Linked DNA regions of Homo sapiens: region 2 is linked to region 1. Evidence: promoter capture Hi-C in human tissues and cell types (Jung and others, 2019). All regions are on one chromosome and are shown on one strand. The core of a region is centred on a gene start or on the middle of the fragment in contact, and the rest is flanking DNA. Distances in the headings are between cores, read along the strand shown.

Region 1 (7,180 bases), core at 2,197-4,696:
TGTATATTTTGTAAGCCAAGTAAAGAAAAGAAAAATCTGGAAGAAAAGATTCAAGGGATAAAACCGGGTATAACACTTTAATATAGATTTGTGGAACTCTGGCCCTTGCAGCCAGAATACACATTTATAAGCCATAAATAAAGCACGCAGAAACCATAAATTAATCGGACCCGAGACCTGGATTTCACCGTGTCAAGATTGGGAATGCTTTTTTTTTCTTTTTCTTGGTCATTTACAACAGACCCTTACATTATTTTTTTTCCTGTTTTTAAACAATAGTACAACCCTCTGGTTCTGTTAAAACTACATGGTTTTACACCGAGTCACTCACAAAATTTTTTTTTTTTTTTAAGTAAGACTTCCCTGCAACAACAGCAATGGAGGAGAACAACAACAACAAAAAAATCAGAATCTGCAGGTGCTTGAAGAAGCAGGAGTCTACACAGTAGTGGAAACCGGAGGCTTTTTTTTAACTTTATATTCTTTCCCGTTTTCCTCCTTATATAGAACGTGGGGTATCTGTGTGGCCCTCTGTTTGGGACGGAACGGCTGCAGCGGGTGAAGAAGACTGCTGTCTTGGGGGTGTTGGGGTGGGGGTGTTATGGATTTCTTCTCCCTTGCGTCTCTGCAACACCGTCTCCCCAAAGTCTCGACCCCCACTTGCTCTCTCACTTGTCCTCGATCCGGGGTGCCAGAGTTAGCCGGGCCTGAAGCCGTCGTCTTCTTAAGAGGAGTTCATAATGGGCCGGGAGTACACCCCCTGGTAGTAGGAGGTATCTGCGGCCAGGGGCGAGGCGTCCAGGCCCGTTTTGTTCGTGACCGGGCCCATGGCCAAGCTGCCAGGCATGGGGGAACCGTAGCCGGGGTAGTGCATCACCTGTTCGTAGGCCTTGAGGTCCATTTTGTGGGGTTGGTGGTGGTGGTGGCTGTGGTGGTGCTGCTGCTCCGAGGACATGAGGTTGTTGATGGAGAACGGGTGGTTGAAGGCGTAGTGGTGTTCCGGCTTCAGGTGGGCCTCAGGCGGCAGGCCCGGGTGGTGGGGCGGGCCCAGCAGGTGGGCCGCGGCCTGCTGCTGCTGCCCGGGAGAGGGCGCCGGCTCTGGGGGGCTCAGCGCCGCAGCCGGCGTCCCCTTCAGCTCTCCCAGGCCCCCTCGCTTGTGCTCCTGGCACGGGGAGGCGCTCGAGTGAGGCGACTCGGTGCCCGCCGGAGTCTCGGAGGCCGGCCCGGCGGCCTCCCCGAGTTGAGCCTGTGAGGCCTGGGCTCCGGCGGCCGCCTTCTTGCCGCTGCCGGCGGCGCCTGCGGCCTCCTTCAGCGCCAGCTGCTTCTCGCACTTGAAGCGCTTCTGGCGGCGCAGGTAGCAGCCGTTCTCGAACATGTTGCCCGAGTCAGGGTGCAGGGTCCAGAAGGAGCCCTTGCCGGGCTTGTCGGGCGAGCGGGGCACCTTCAGGAAACAGTCGTTGAAGGAGAGCGAGTGGCGGATGGAGTTCTGCCAGCGCTGCTGGTTCTGCCGGTAGAAGGGGAAGAGGTCCATGATCCACTGGTAGATCTCGCTCAGCGTCAGCATCTTGTTGGGGCTCTGCTGGATGGCCATGGTGATGAGCGAGATGTACGAGTAGGGCGGCTTTGCGTGCGTGTAGCTGCGCCTGTAGGTCTTGGGGTCGCGGGCGCGGCTCAGGCCCGCCTGCCCGTACATGGGGCTCATGGAGTTCATGTTGGCGTAGGGGGCCAGGCCGCCCATGGCCCCGGCCGCCTGCCCCCCGAGCGGGCTCAGGCTGGGACTCAAGTGCGGCCCCATGCCCGCCACGCCGGCCGCCCCGGCCGAGCCGCCCATGCCCGCCATGGCGCCCGCGCCGGGGGACATCCCCGCCAGGGACGGGCTCATGCCAGCGCCCACGTACGACGACATGTTCATGGAGCCCGCGCTCATGTTGCCCGAGCCGCTGCCCATGGCGGCCGCCGACATGCTCATGTACGTGTTCATGCCGTTCATCCCCAGGCCGGCGTTCATGTTGCTCACGGAGGAGTAGCCCTGCGGACAGAGCCCCGGGAGGGAGGCGACAGCGTTAGCACCGCGGCTGGAGGGTGCCCAGACCTCCCACCCACCGCCCAGGCCTCCGCGTCCGGGGAGGCCTCCGGGGAGCCCTTTCGTCCCCGATGGCCCAGTCTCCGGACTCCGAGTCTGTTTCATTCAGGGAGAGTCATGATCGATCGCCCTTGGGAAGGTGGCGAGCGGATTGCTGCTTGGGCATGTGGCCCGTTCCTAGCCCTTCTCCACCTCGCCCAGATTCTAGAACAGGGGTCCCATGGAGTACTCCCAAGCCAGCACCCCAAATACATTCCCCTACCCCAGAGTCTCCCCAAACTCTCCCACCAGCATACTGAGCTGGCGCCGAGGCCCGAAGTCCCCGGACGCCACCTCCGGTCGCAGCAAGCAACCTGCGGGACAACGCGCGGGGCGCCTCGGGCTGCCTCCAGCGAAGACTGTCCCGGGCCCCCTCTGTCCGGTCTCCCTCCAGGGACCCCCTCCCTTGTCCCAGGGAAACTGCAAGGCAGTGCCTGTGCGGAGTGCGGGGGCGGCTGGAGGCACTGAACGGGGCAATAGGGAAAGAACCGAGACCTGAACCACACGCGGCTGAGCTTTGCAGGCAAAAACTTTCTTTCTCTTTGTCCACTAGTCTTTGACTCTGCCTCCACTTCAGCCCCCAACTCCTACCCATCTTCTCCTCCTCAGCTCCCCACCCCCTCGCCGGCCGACCTCCCACCCCTCCCCAGCCGCGCGCTGCCAAACATAACTCTGTTAGGATAGTGCGTGGCTCGGCCACGAAGAGGATTTGGAGGCGCCGCAAGTCAATATTTGATCACAAAGTTAATATTATCTCAAGGCTAACAGTGTGTCGTATAAAAAAGAGACCCATTTGATTCCAAGGAGGGCGGAAAAGGCGGCTGCCCAGAAAGGCTGGGGTTGTGGGGCGGGGTGGGGGGGTGCCAGCGAGGGAAGCGGTCCTGAGGTTGGGGAAGGAGCGAGCGCCGCCGCTCCACTTCCCCCTGGAAAAGACGAGCGCTTACCTCGGGCTCTGCATAGTAGCTGCTCCAGTCGGACGGCTCGTGCCCTTCCATCTTCACCGCTCCCAGCATACTGGAAGCCGAGTGCATGGCAGTTTAAAATTTAACAGCCACAACAAACGACCAGCAATCACCCCCCACCCCCACCCTCTTTTAAAAAAAAGTCAGCCAAAGCACCGTCCCCTCCTCCCTCCCTCTCTCGCGCTCCCTCTCCCTGGGCTCCACTCCCTCTCTCTCCCTGGGCAGGCCGGAGGCGGTAGTTGGAAGTGGGCGGGAGGTGGGGGGGGGCGAGGAGCGGAGGAGGCCCAGGCCAGCGCCCCGCGGTAGGGAGCACCCGCCGCCGCCGCGCTCACGGGCTGCCGGGTGGCGGCTGAGGTTGGCAGTGCCGAGCTGCCCCGAGGCGGCGGGAAGCGCGCGGCGCGGGGGCTAGTGGGGGGGTGGGGAGGAGGAGGAGGAAGGAGGAGGAGGAGGCGGTGGTGGTGGTGGAGGAGGAGGAGGAGGAGGAGGAGGAGGAGGAGGAGGAGGAGGTGTGGACCGCGGAGCGGACAAGTGCCGCAGTGACGTGGGAGGCTGGTGATATAGCGCGGCGCGCTGGCGCGGGCCTCCAATCCCCAGACCCGGGGCAGCCCATTTGAATAATCAGCTCACACCTAGGTGAGAGGTAGCCGCAGCCGGCGCTCCGCACCTGCCCCTCAGCGCCTGCCGTCCGCCCCACCGCCGCGGCGCCCCGCACTCCTGGGCGGGCCAGGGGAGCGGGCTGGGCGGGCGATCGGGCACGCGGGATCCCTGGTCGAGCCCCCTTTCCTCCCGGGTCCACAGCGAGTCCCCTGAGGAAGGAGGGACCTGGGAGGAAACCACCCTCTGGGGCGGCTCCGGCCTCCAGCCCCCGCCCCGTCTCATCGCGCCGGGCGCCCGGTGCGCCTGTCGGAGGGCGCGTCCAGCCTCAGTGCCCGGCAGATCCCTATGAAAGCCGGATTTATTTATGCCGGGTTTCTTCGCTCTCAGTGCTCATTCTCTGTCAAAACAGCAAGTCCATGACAGCCAATTTGCAAAGCGCTGTCCTATTTAGAAAAACTACGTACACACCTTTAACTCGCCCGCTGCTGCTCCTGCGAGGCCCCTCCCTGTTACAGTTCAGACCCGGAACGGCCTCGGGAGAAGCGCGGGGCGCACGGTCTGGCCGCCTCGGCTCTCCGACTCCTCAGACACCGGCCGCCAGGGACCCGCAGTGGGGCGGCCGGCGCCTGGCGCAAGCAGCCCCTCTAGCAGCGGCCGACGGTTGGGAGGCTGAGATTTGTCTCTGATATTCAGGCCGGCGTGTTTCAAGGTTACTTTTCAGTCACAACCGAGGTGCCCACAGCATTTCGTAACTAAAACAAACAGGGCAGGAGGTGGGGAGGGAGGGGTGAGGAGAGAAGAATCCAGGAATCAATGATGGGGCATATGGAGTTGACTTCAAGAGCGTCTCTGTCCTCTCTGTCTTCCAGAGGGACTGCTTAATAGAAATTAGAAACTCCAGCAATCGTATACTTTTATTTCCCCAGCAGCTCTTGGGTTCAAAAATTGTCTTCTGTTCTGGGTTAGCCTGTGAGCCCAGATTTGGAGTGGGGGGATATTGCAGGTGTTTGGATGTGGAGGCTCTTTCTTGGTTCTGAAAACCTGGCTGGACCTTGGGGATCCAGCCCTGTACCCACCCCCTCAGACACAGAGAATGCATAGGAACTAGTGGGCATCCAGCCCACCTGTCCAAAATTGGGGGCGATGGTGGCAGAAGACAGGCGAGATGGCAGACACGGAGCTTCGCATTGAAGCTTGAGTAAGGGTGAGGCTGGAAGGCAAGCGAGGAGGTAGCAGTAGGCACAGGGGAACCACTTCCCTAACCCCAGGACTCTCAGGTCTGCACGGTTTGGGACACAGAAGGAAGCCGCCGGCAGCATCTTTTGCTGCTGAAATGCAGATGGTTTGGACACTTCATAAAGAGGGCATTAATAAGCCCGCCGAGTGAGCGCCAGGGCGGGATTCTCCCACAAATTCAAGGTCTGTATCTCCGCGGAAGCCGTGCCTATCGGTCCCCCGAGTGCTGAAGGCTCCCACGAGGGGCAGGCCAGCCCGGTGCGCCAGGGAAGGAGCTTGATGGTGTGTACGGCTACGTAGTGAACGTGGAGGTGTGCGCAGCGGAGTCAGAGGGGCTAGATCCCCAGCATTTCCCACGGGGTCCCACCTAGCGCGTGGATGGGAGCAACTTCATCACTCCACCGAGGGCAGGGAAAGAGGAGTAAGCATTGGAGCTCAAAGAATGAGCAATTTTTCAAAGCTTTCTCCGCAGGCCTGGGCAGACACACACGCACACACACACACACCGCACCCCCAAAACTCAAAAGAATGTTATGGTTGACCTAGTCTGTGCGTGTGCTGTATGAGAGTATTTGTGAGCTTATGTGGGTGCCCACTTCCCTTTCTATTTTGCTCCTGGGTGGAAATTTGGTCCCAGAAATTATTCCAGGAACAGAAGGAGCGAGCTGGAGGGCCGCAGGAGAAGGGGGCGCTACACTTCCAAGGAGCGGACTTTGGAAGCCCCCACCTCCACCACAGCACTATTGGTGGCCGGGGTCAGGGACACCAGAGAGCGCTCGGCGGGGGCTTCCACAGTGACAGGGCGCCCCCTGTCGGCCGCCAGGCCCGCGGGACCGACCCGAGTCCTCATTTACCCCCGCGATCCCAACCCCGCAGCTCCGGCACCGGAGCACCTTCTCCCCCGCTCTCCCAGTCTCTCCGAAAACGCCTTCGGGGGGACTCGGCCTTTTTGGAGCCCCAACCCCTAGGTTCTGCGCGAACCCAAAACGGCCTCCTGCACCCTGGCGAGGTTCTGGGAGCTCCGGTAGGGTAGGGCTGGATGACGCCTCCTAGAGTCTCGGAGCAGCCGCTCCCGCACCCTCCCGGCACGCCTGCCCATGGGAATGCGAGCGGGGTCTACGGTTAGCTTTAGGTAGCTGGGAGCGGGACACCAACGGGCTGCGAAGGAAGCAGGGACGTTCAGACAGCCTGGGGTTCGCGTTCCCTTCCAGCTCAGCGGTCTTTGGAGCTCCTCCTTCCCGGAGTTCTGATTTCTAAAGGGCTATCCAGAGTTCTGGCTCAGGCTTGAATGCTGAAGATTGCTCCCGGAGTTTCTCTCCAGGAAAAAGTTCGCGGGGACCTCGGGCTGCAGATGTTTCTCCCAATCCCTCTTTAGTCTACCCTCATGTAGGGCCGAGACCTACAGAGCCCTTCCCTTTCCATTTTGTTAGGTCACCGCCGGCTTCTATAATAAAGCTGCTTTATAACTGAGGACTGTGCTTGGGGTTAGCATGCTATTTTTATTTTGGATGTTGCCTCAATGGCAAAGTCATAAGACTCGAGTTCAAATCCAGGCCTCCTCTGCTCTCCCTGGGAAGAAAACACCCAGGCCATCCAGGTCTCCTAGGCCTTCATCTTGCTGGAACAATCTGCGTTCCCCTAGCAAAAGTCCTCCCTAGAGCTCTCTTTGTCACATGAAACCAACCAGTGCAGAAGGGGCATCATTGAACAGAACTCAATTTTCCTAAGTGAGAACCCATGAAATACCTAAGGAGAAAAACAATAAAAGTCCCATTAATACTCCAATTCCTAAAACCTTTCAGAGAATAAATACCCAGGCAAGGCCTTGCTCAAAGTTCCCCAGCGTGTTTAGGGCAACATAAGGCAGATATGTAGGCAAGATGAAGGCAGAGGGGATGGAAAAGTGACAGCACAGTCTTGGGAAAGTATGCATTTTTACTTTCTTATAAACTTTTTAATTGGTAAAAAAGCAGATGTCCAAACACCCCTTATTCATTCTCTGGATGAATCTCAAGTCTCAATGAAGAAAAGGCATATCGTGTGTCAAAGATTATAATCAACATTTCACTTTCTTTGGGTGGGTTATTATTTCTGAAATGTACTGAAAAATCAGCCAGGCGCAATGGCTCATGCCTGTAATCCCAGCACTTTGGGAGGCCGGGGCGGGCGGATCACCTTAGGTCAGGAGTTCAAGACCAGCCTGACAAACATGGTGAAAACCCATCTTTATTAAAAATACGAAATTAACAGGATGTGGTGGCCC
Region 2 (7,180 bases), core at 1,920-4,419, 1.2 Mb before region 1:
TACTTCTAGATTCAATATTTGTGTAGAACCAGTCTTCACCTATGTATCAATCTTTCATCCATTCATCCACATCTTGCTATAAGAGGAAGAAAAACACAAAAGGAAGAGAGATAGAGGGCAAGGAAAAGCATCCTTAAGATGATTTGGACTTGGATGGACGGGATTGTAGAGTGAATCTAAGCGCCACATCTCTCTGTTGCTTCCTCTGGCTATGAGGGCAGAGAGGTACTTTTTTGTCCCTAGGGAGATAGGCTTGACCAGGAAGGGGACCTGGTTCATTTCACCCAGGCTGTCACGGCTTCGAGAGCACCTCTCCGCTCTTTCCGTCCCTCGACAGACCGGCTGATCTCTTTGAAGTGATGTTGGGTTTTGGTTTGTGCTTCAGGAACCGCTGATACTGATTTTTATCTGATCCCTTCTCTTTACATTTTAAGTGCCAGATTTTGAGGGGTAGTATTATCCTTTTAAAAAGAGCAGAGATTCCAGTGTTTTAGCCAAGATGTTTTCTTATTTTCTTCCTATAAATCCTGTATTTGCCTAGATGCTTACAACTAAAATGTGTGTTATTTTTCTTTCCTATCCTAATTGGATATGAGTAATAATGTCGGTTGTAAACCTTTAAGATGTTGAGAGTAGTTGTTAAACCCCCCATCCAGTCTTGTTGAAACTGTAAGTTTCTGAGCCTCCTGATTAAGCAGCACAAAATCATGGGTGGTTCTCCTCTGCGTCTTCTGAAATAAATTAACATGAAGTGCCATCTCAACCGACAGCATAAATGAATGTGAAACTTTGAGATTGCACAGTGTAGTAGAGAGTGGTTACGGGGACATAGCCCCTGGCCTCACTCTGTGACCTCTGACAGGTTTGGTCATTGCCCCAGTTTCCTCATCTCGAAAATAGTACAGAGGATAAGAATATTTACCTGACAAAATAACCAGACTAAATGAATTTAAGTAGCTAAGCACTTAAAATAGTACGTTGTACATAATAAGTACTGTGAAAGTATTAAGTGATAAAAGATCATCTTTCCTTTTATAGAATTTTGAACTTTAAAATTTAGTCAAATAGCTTGTTTTAGTAAGATTGAGTTCTAAGCCATTTATTCAGTCTAAAATATTTTTAGTATCATAATCATTTTCTTCGTGTAGTATGAAATTGCACTCAAGAAGGGCCATTTGGTCAAACTGACAACTGTCAAGTGTCTGCTGTAGGTATTTCTTATTGTTGGTGTTTGATTTGTCTTTGATGTGTCAGTTTTGGCTGATGAGTAATTGTCTGAGTACTGATAACTTGTTGGAATCGAGTGTAGCCCTGAGTACTCAGTCTGAATAAAGCATTTGGTTTCTGTAGCCCAGAGAACCTTAAATGTGACTTCTCTTCATTTTAGTCTGTAAACTTGTCAATTAGCCACGTTGAAAAGTGATTTTTGACTAGTGCTATCAGTAAACATGGAATCTTTTCTGTGATTGCCACGCTGATTAGGTAAATTGTCACTTGAGAAGCTATTGGCGAAGCTTGGTTTACATGGCCTTAGAGCTCTAGAAAAGGGATAAGTTTTTAAAGACCAAAGGAAAAAATTTTCCACTCTCGCCTGTACCTTCTGAAGTGCAATTCACTGTCTCAGAATTTTTTTTCTTCCTCTCAAATGGGTCTTCTGTTAGAGCCATACAAATGAATGATAATAAGTTTGTTTTACCATCTACTTCATTACAGATCAGCCAGGAAATACTTCTGCTTTATGAATACTTCCAGGTTATATATGTTACTAAGAGCCATATGAAGAAATTTGGTTAAAAATAGCCTTGAAATATTTCTTTGAGCCTTTTTTCTTTTTGGATTGAAAACAAGGAGTGTTTTAACAGTTGCATCAGAGTTTATTGAAAGTTTTGGAAAATTTGCTTAGGTTTTAACAAAAAACTGTAATTTTTGTATGTGCTGAGTTTATATGGAAAAAGAAAATTGTCCTGGAGGTGAGAGATAGAAAATGGAAAATAGAGAGGCACCTGGCACACTAGAAGTGATATATTAGAAATGTTTGCTGTTTTTTAAGACATTTCTAGTTGTATAGGTTAGACAACTAGTTGTATAGGTTAGACAATTATTTCCTCCTCCAAAAAAAGCATTTACACTTAGTAAACTTTACATTCCAGTTCTACTTAGAAATACTGCTGTGCTTAATCTAAGAATAGCATGTTTGAGTCTAATGAATATATATTATGGGTGGTGATGGCTTCATCTCCATTAGCACAGTTTCTAGGACAAAATATACAAGTTTTTTTCCCATCTTTATTTTTCTTAAAACATTAGATTGTTTCTGAAGGTTTCTCTTAATGTAGCTGTATCTTTGTATTGTCTTCATTCGATTTTAAATTTATTAGGGAGCCACTGTGGAAGCTTTCGTAAGTACCATGGAGAATGTGTATCCTGCGATTATACCATACATAAAAAGACACCAGGCAAGCACAATATGGAATTAAGTCCTAATGGTAAAAAGGGGTATGTTTCCAGGGTAACCGCAGTGATTCCAGGGGATGTGAAGTAGAGGGGTCCGGATGAATATTTGCTGTATTTCTTTTGACTTCTGTTACATTTGCAAATTTTGTATATATAAGGGCACTAAAATGAAATACTTCTGGGAACATTTTAACTGATTCTCACTAAACTAATTTTGTACATGAGCTGAAAAAGTGGCTCAAACATTGATTTTACTTTCAGTAGATTACTTTCTCACAAATGGTAACTCATTGAAATTCATATATGTAAATGTATCTTAAGTTTTCCCATAGAAATAAACCATACAAATGAAATGATTGCTATTATTGTAAGAACTTCTTACTTTTATCTCTTCAGAAAATTGATTTTCTGATAGTGTATAGTCTGTAGTAATGACTCAGAACTTACTCTGGGCGTAGGGTGGGGAACTGTCTTCCTCTGTTTTCTGTGGAGTGTGTAGTAGTCAGCATCCTCCACATTGTTACTCGGTTTGACTGCTAGTAGTTTGGTTTTTAAGAAATAAAAAAGGAACTTAATTCCAATTGACTAAAGATACCACCTTTTAATTCACAATGGGAATCTGCCTGGAAGTGACAGCTGGTGAAGGGCTTCCTGCACCTTTCTGAGAGGTGGGTTTGGCACCCATGGGTATGGCTGCAGAAACTTTTCCAGCTGGCCATGGACTGATGTGGGAGTGGGCTGTGGCAGCTGCAGATGGCTGCCCTCCTTCAGGTAGTTTGTCCACATAAGGAAAACTTTCTTCAGTCTGGCCTTCTCAGCATGTCGAGATGGGAAGGAAGCCAGGGCTGAGGCTGCCAGTTATGAGCTAGAATCATTGTGAGCAGCTAGATATTTTATTGATTCCGTGTTCTTTGTCATGGGGCTTTTAAAGCATGATTCTACTTTTTTCTTTCTCTCTCTTTCTTAAGTAAAAACCATATATATTTTTGGTTTCTAACCAGAGATAAGCTTTCAACTCTTCTTTTCTTTAAGTAATTTTGAAAAGCATTTTTCTAGTTTGTGTTTCTATTAAAATGTGAGCCTGAATACATTATGGTAAGCGTTGTCCTTGGTCTCGGGAGTCTAGAGGAGGTTACTGTCCTCACATGGTGAACTCATTAGACAACTTCTGGAACCAGCAGTTTTAATTAGGTCACAGCAGACCCCGCTGAAGGTGAAGTGACTGCAAGCTGTGGTTCGCTGATATAGACAGGCCCAGATGTTTCTTTCATCCTATATCCGTCAGTTTATGTAGAAGAGCAGGAGCCATTTAATTGTTTCTTCTAGTTAGATGATGTTGCTAGTTCAGCTTTGCGTTACAAGAAAACTATCAGAAAAGATGGAGAAGTGGGTGGTCCCTTCATTAATGTGTTTTCTTGGTTTGTGTTGGAGAGATTGTGTGTGCTCTGCTTAATGTTAATGAAAGCAATTTATGCCTTCAGAAGGAAAATTTCAGGATTTCTGTTGTAGATACTATTCATTCAGTTTGTATTAATTCTATTTATGGAAAAGAACTAAACCTTTCCTTTTCCACAGCATTTAAAATATAAATGTAAAAACTGTGTGTAATGTATGTATCTTTACTTACACACACATACACACACACACACACACACACACACACAGGATTATGTGAGTTTAGTGACCAGGGGTTACTAAACCTATTTTGTTATCAAAGGAAAAATAATAAAAAATTTGCTGACCTTGTTAGTTACTTACCTTTTTACATTTGTGGTGTGTGTTATTATGATACTAGTTTATTTGGTTTACAGTCTTTCTCAGATTTTTTTCAAGAACTTTTAATTATAAAATATTGGGTAGTTGAATATTGGTTACTTTTAAAAATCTTCTTAACCCTTTCCTGTTTCTTTTTCAGATATGAGGCCCCAGGATTCCTGGCGAGGTCCTCCTCCCCTTTTCCAGCAGCAAAGGTTTGACAGGTAATATTAAAAGTAGACATGACTTTTAAATACTTTCTGACACCAACATTTGGGGTTTATGGTTTTTATGGAAGCTAAAACCTCTGTGGTTTGAAATGTACTTTTTCCCACCAAAAACAATTTCCCTTGTGCCTATCCTTTAAGAAAATATATAGCTAATACTTTGAATTAAAAGACTCATGTTTAATATACTTTCTTACTTTTCTTGGTTCTTGGCCTTTATTTTATTGATGCTTTTGAGATGCCCTGAAAAATGCAACACAGCTTAAAACTGTATTAGGTTTTGGTCAGGCTAAACAAATTTCTTTTTAGAAGGGTTGTGCAGCTTAATGAGGCATAACTAATGGTGTTCCACTTTTATCATTTCTGTGCGGGCAATGCAGCGTTAGTACAGACCAACCATTGATTCTTGCTACAAACCTCTTGAAGTCCTAATCAGCTTCTTTGGTACAACTTTTTCAGGGCTGACAAGCCTATTGTAGGGCAGTGTCACTGTAGGTCAGTAGTTATTAGTTGCCACTGAAAACAGTTTCTTTAACTACTTAAGACTGAACTGAATTAAACGCAGAAGGGACTCAGAAGAGGATTATGGGATCTGCAGTCTAATAAGTACCATGGACTAGGAAGAATGTGACATGGTTTAATAACAAGGGATGTTTAACATGTATTCCTTCATTGATAAGTTGTGTGCTCCTAAGTCCGATGGACTCTGTACGACAAGACAACTAGGCACATTATGAATAATTAACATCTGTAGAATAATTTTTAAAGGCCAGCTTTAAGATGTATCATTTCATGATGGTTTTGCCAACATCAGTAAATGCAAAAACAAATTAAGCCCCATCATAATAAGGCTTTCTTTTTTGCCTTCCCAGTTTTAATCTGTTTTATTCTCTTCTCCTCTGCCATGTTTACAGTCTCTAATCTGTTCACATCTGAAATGAATAGTGTTTTTATAAATGGGATTCTAAATGCAGCTTCCCTTTTAAGAAAACTTTATAACTCTTTAGAGACTCCAGAACTTTATTTCATTGTTATCTTCAAGAGGATAAAAGGAATCATGTTATTCGATGTTTACTAATAGTGTCAACTTAGTGCAAGTCTCATTAAATGCAATACGACTAGCAATGTGTGTATTAATGTTTTGATTTTAGTATATGTTCTGAAAGCACACAGTATGTGCTGTTTCATTTTCCTCAGTACCACAAATTTTAAGCAGAAATTAAGTAAGTAAGGGGTAAATTTTTCCTAAATTATATACTTGGTTTCTCTATCTTATTGCTCACTTTCCATACTAATAATAATGGCAAATGTTTGTCTGCTTACAAAGTGTTAACACTGTGTTAACATCCTTTAATAAGAATGATTTCATTTATTCCTCCTAGCAGTGCATTGAAATAGATGCTGTTATGTTTACATTTTTGCAAATGAAGAAAGTGAGGCACAGAGAAGTTCAGCAGCTTACCTAAGGTCACTCTTTTGTGCCATTCTTTACCAAGAAACTTTTCACTGGAACAAAACTTACCAGAATATTTACTCTGAGCGTAATATAAAGACGTAGGGACTTCAAAGGAAGTAAAGGATCTGTTTCCACTTCTAAGGCCCCAACAGCTTTCCTCCCCTCTGTTCACATTAAAAGTTTTCCTAAGATCATCATCATTGTCCCTTCCCTTACCCTGCTGTCCATCAGGTTTTGTTCTTATTCTACCCTAGCCAAGTACTAGTATTATTCTGACTTTGTGAACCCAGCAGGTTAGTGACAAGTTTTGTGGGAATGTTTTTTGGTTTAGTTTTAGTCAGATACTTAAAATTATGCCTGAAAGCAAAAGGTAAATGTGAGCATAATAGAGTTCTATCATAAAAGTCTTACATCACAGACATTTAAGAAAGATACCATTTTGTTCCAGAACCAGGTTTTACCAGTTCTTAGTTCAGTATGTTTCCACGACGCTACTGTTTGTTGAGAATCCTATTAAGAGAATTTTGAGTGTCTTTTTTTTATTACATTGCATTTCTTGAATAATTTCCTACTTTAAGATGGTATGTATAATCCATATATCCAGTAGATTTAAAAATACAACAGGAACATCCTCCCAACACAGACACAGCCTAGAGTTAATAGATACCCAGCATTGGAGTTCCCTTTGTCACTTGAGTTTTGCCACATTGTTTGGGTTCTTCTTGTCAATGGAGGCCTCTTTTTCAGTCATTTGCAAGGCAGCCATTTAGTTTTTTACCTATGAGTGTTAAGCTCAATCATGAAAAATCTTTTAAATAAAACTCCGATTTTACCATATGCATACATTTAAAATATTCAAATTGGTAGTAGTTCACATCTCCAGTAACTTTCCAAAACAATTTGGAAACTTAAAAAAATTGTTGCTATCTACGATGCCAAATGGCTCAAATAAGTTGCCTTATTTATTAACTTCTTTTATTGATTTATTGATTGAGACAAGGTCTCACTCTGTCACCCAGGCTGGAGTGTAATGTCATGATCTTGGCTCACTGCAGCTTCTGCCATCCAGGTTCAAGTGATTCTGATGCTTCAGCCTTCCAAGTAGCTGGGACTACAGGCTCCCACACCACCATGCCTGGCTGATTTTTGTATTTTTAGTAGAGACGGGGTTTTCCCATGTTGCCTAGGCTGGTCTCAAACTCCTGGGCTGAAGTGATCTGCCTGCCTCGGCCTCCTGGAGTGCCGGGATTACAGGCTGAGTTACTGTGCCTGGCCTAATTGCTAATTT

Evidence for each region. Contacts are between HindIII fragments. The study calls those that stand out against the background at their distance.
Region 2: a fragment that was not itself captured here is called in contact with the fragment with the promoter of FOXA2 in region 1 in 1 of the 25 tissues and cell types used here (dorsolateral prefrontal cortex).

The regions. Positions count from the first base shown.
Region 1 is chr20:22,581,126-22,588,305 of GRCh38, forward strand. It overlaps FOXA2 (forkhead box A2), which reads right to left and starts at 3,447. Exons shown (of 2, transcript NM_021784.5): 1 at 3,067-3,447; 2 at 1-2,029. The coding sequence starts at 3,153. The coding sequence ends at 725. It overlaps LNCNEF (lncRNA neighboring enhancer of FOXA2), which reads right to left. Exons shown (of 3, transcript NR_109883.1): 3 at 6,397-6,663. RefSeq lists enhancers at 908-1,479, 1,480-2,052, 3,477-4,232, 4,988-5,743, 5,744-6,498. The HindIII fragment of the contact is 10,630 bases long and covers 1-5,125 here.
Region 2 is chr20:21,377,625-21,384,804 of GRCh38, forward strand. XRN2 (5'-3' exoribonuclease 2) reads left to right here. Exons shown (of 30, transcript NM_012255.5): 28 at 4,370-4,433. Among named protein-coding and RNA genes, the nearest start is that of NKX2-4, 16 kb to the right of the region's middle. The HindIII fragment of the contact is 5,408 bases long and covers 466-5,873 here.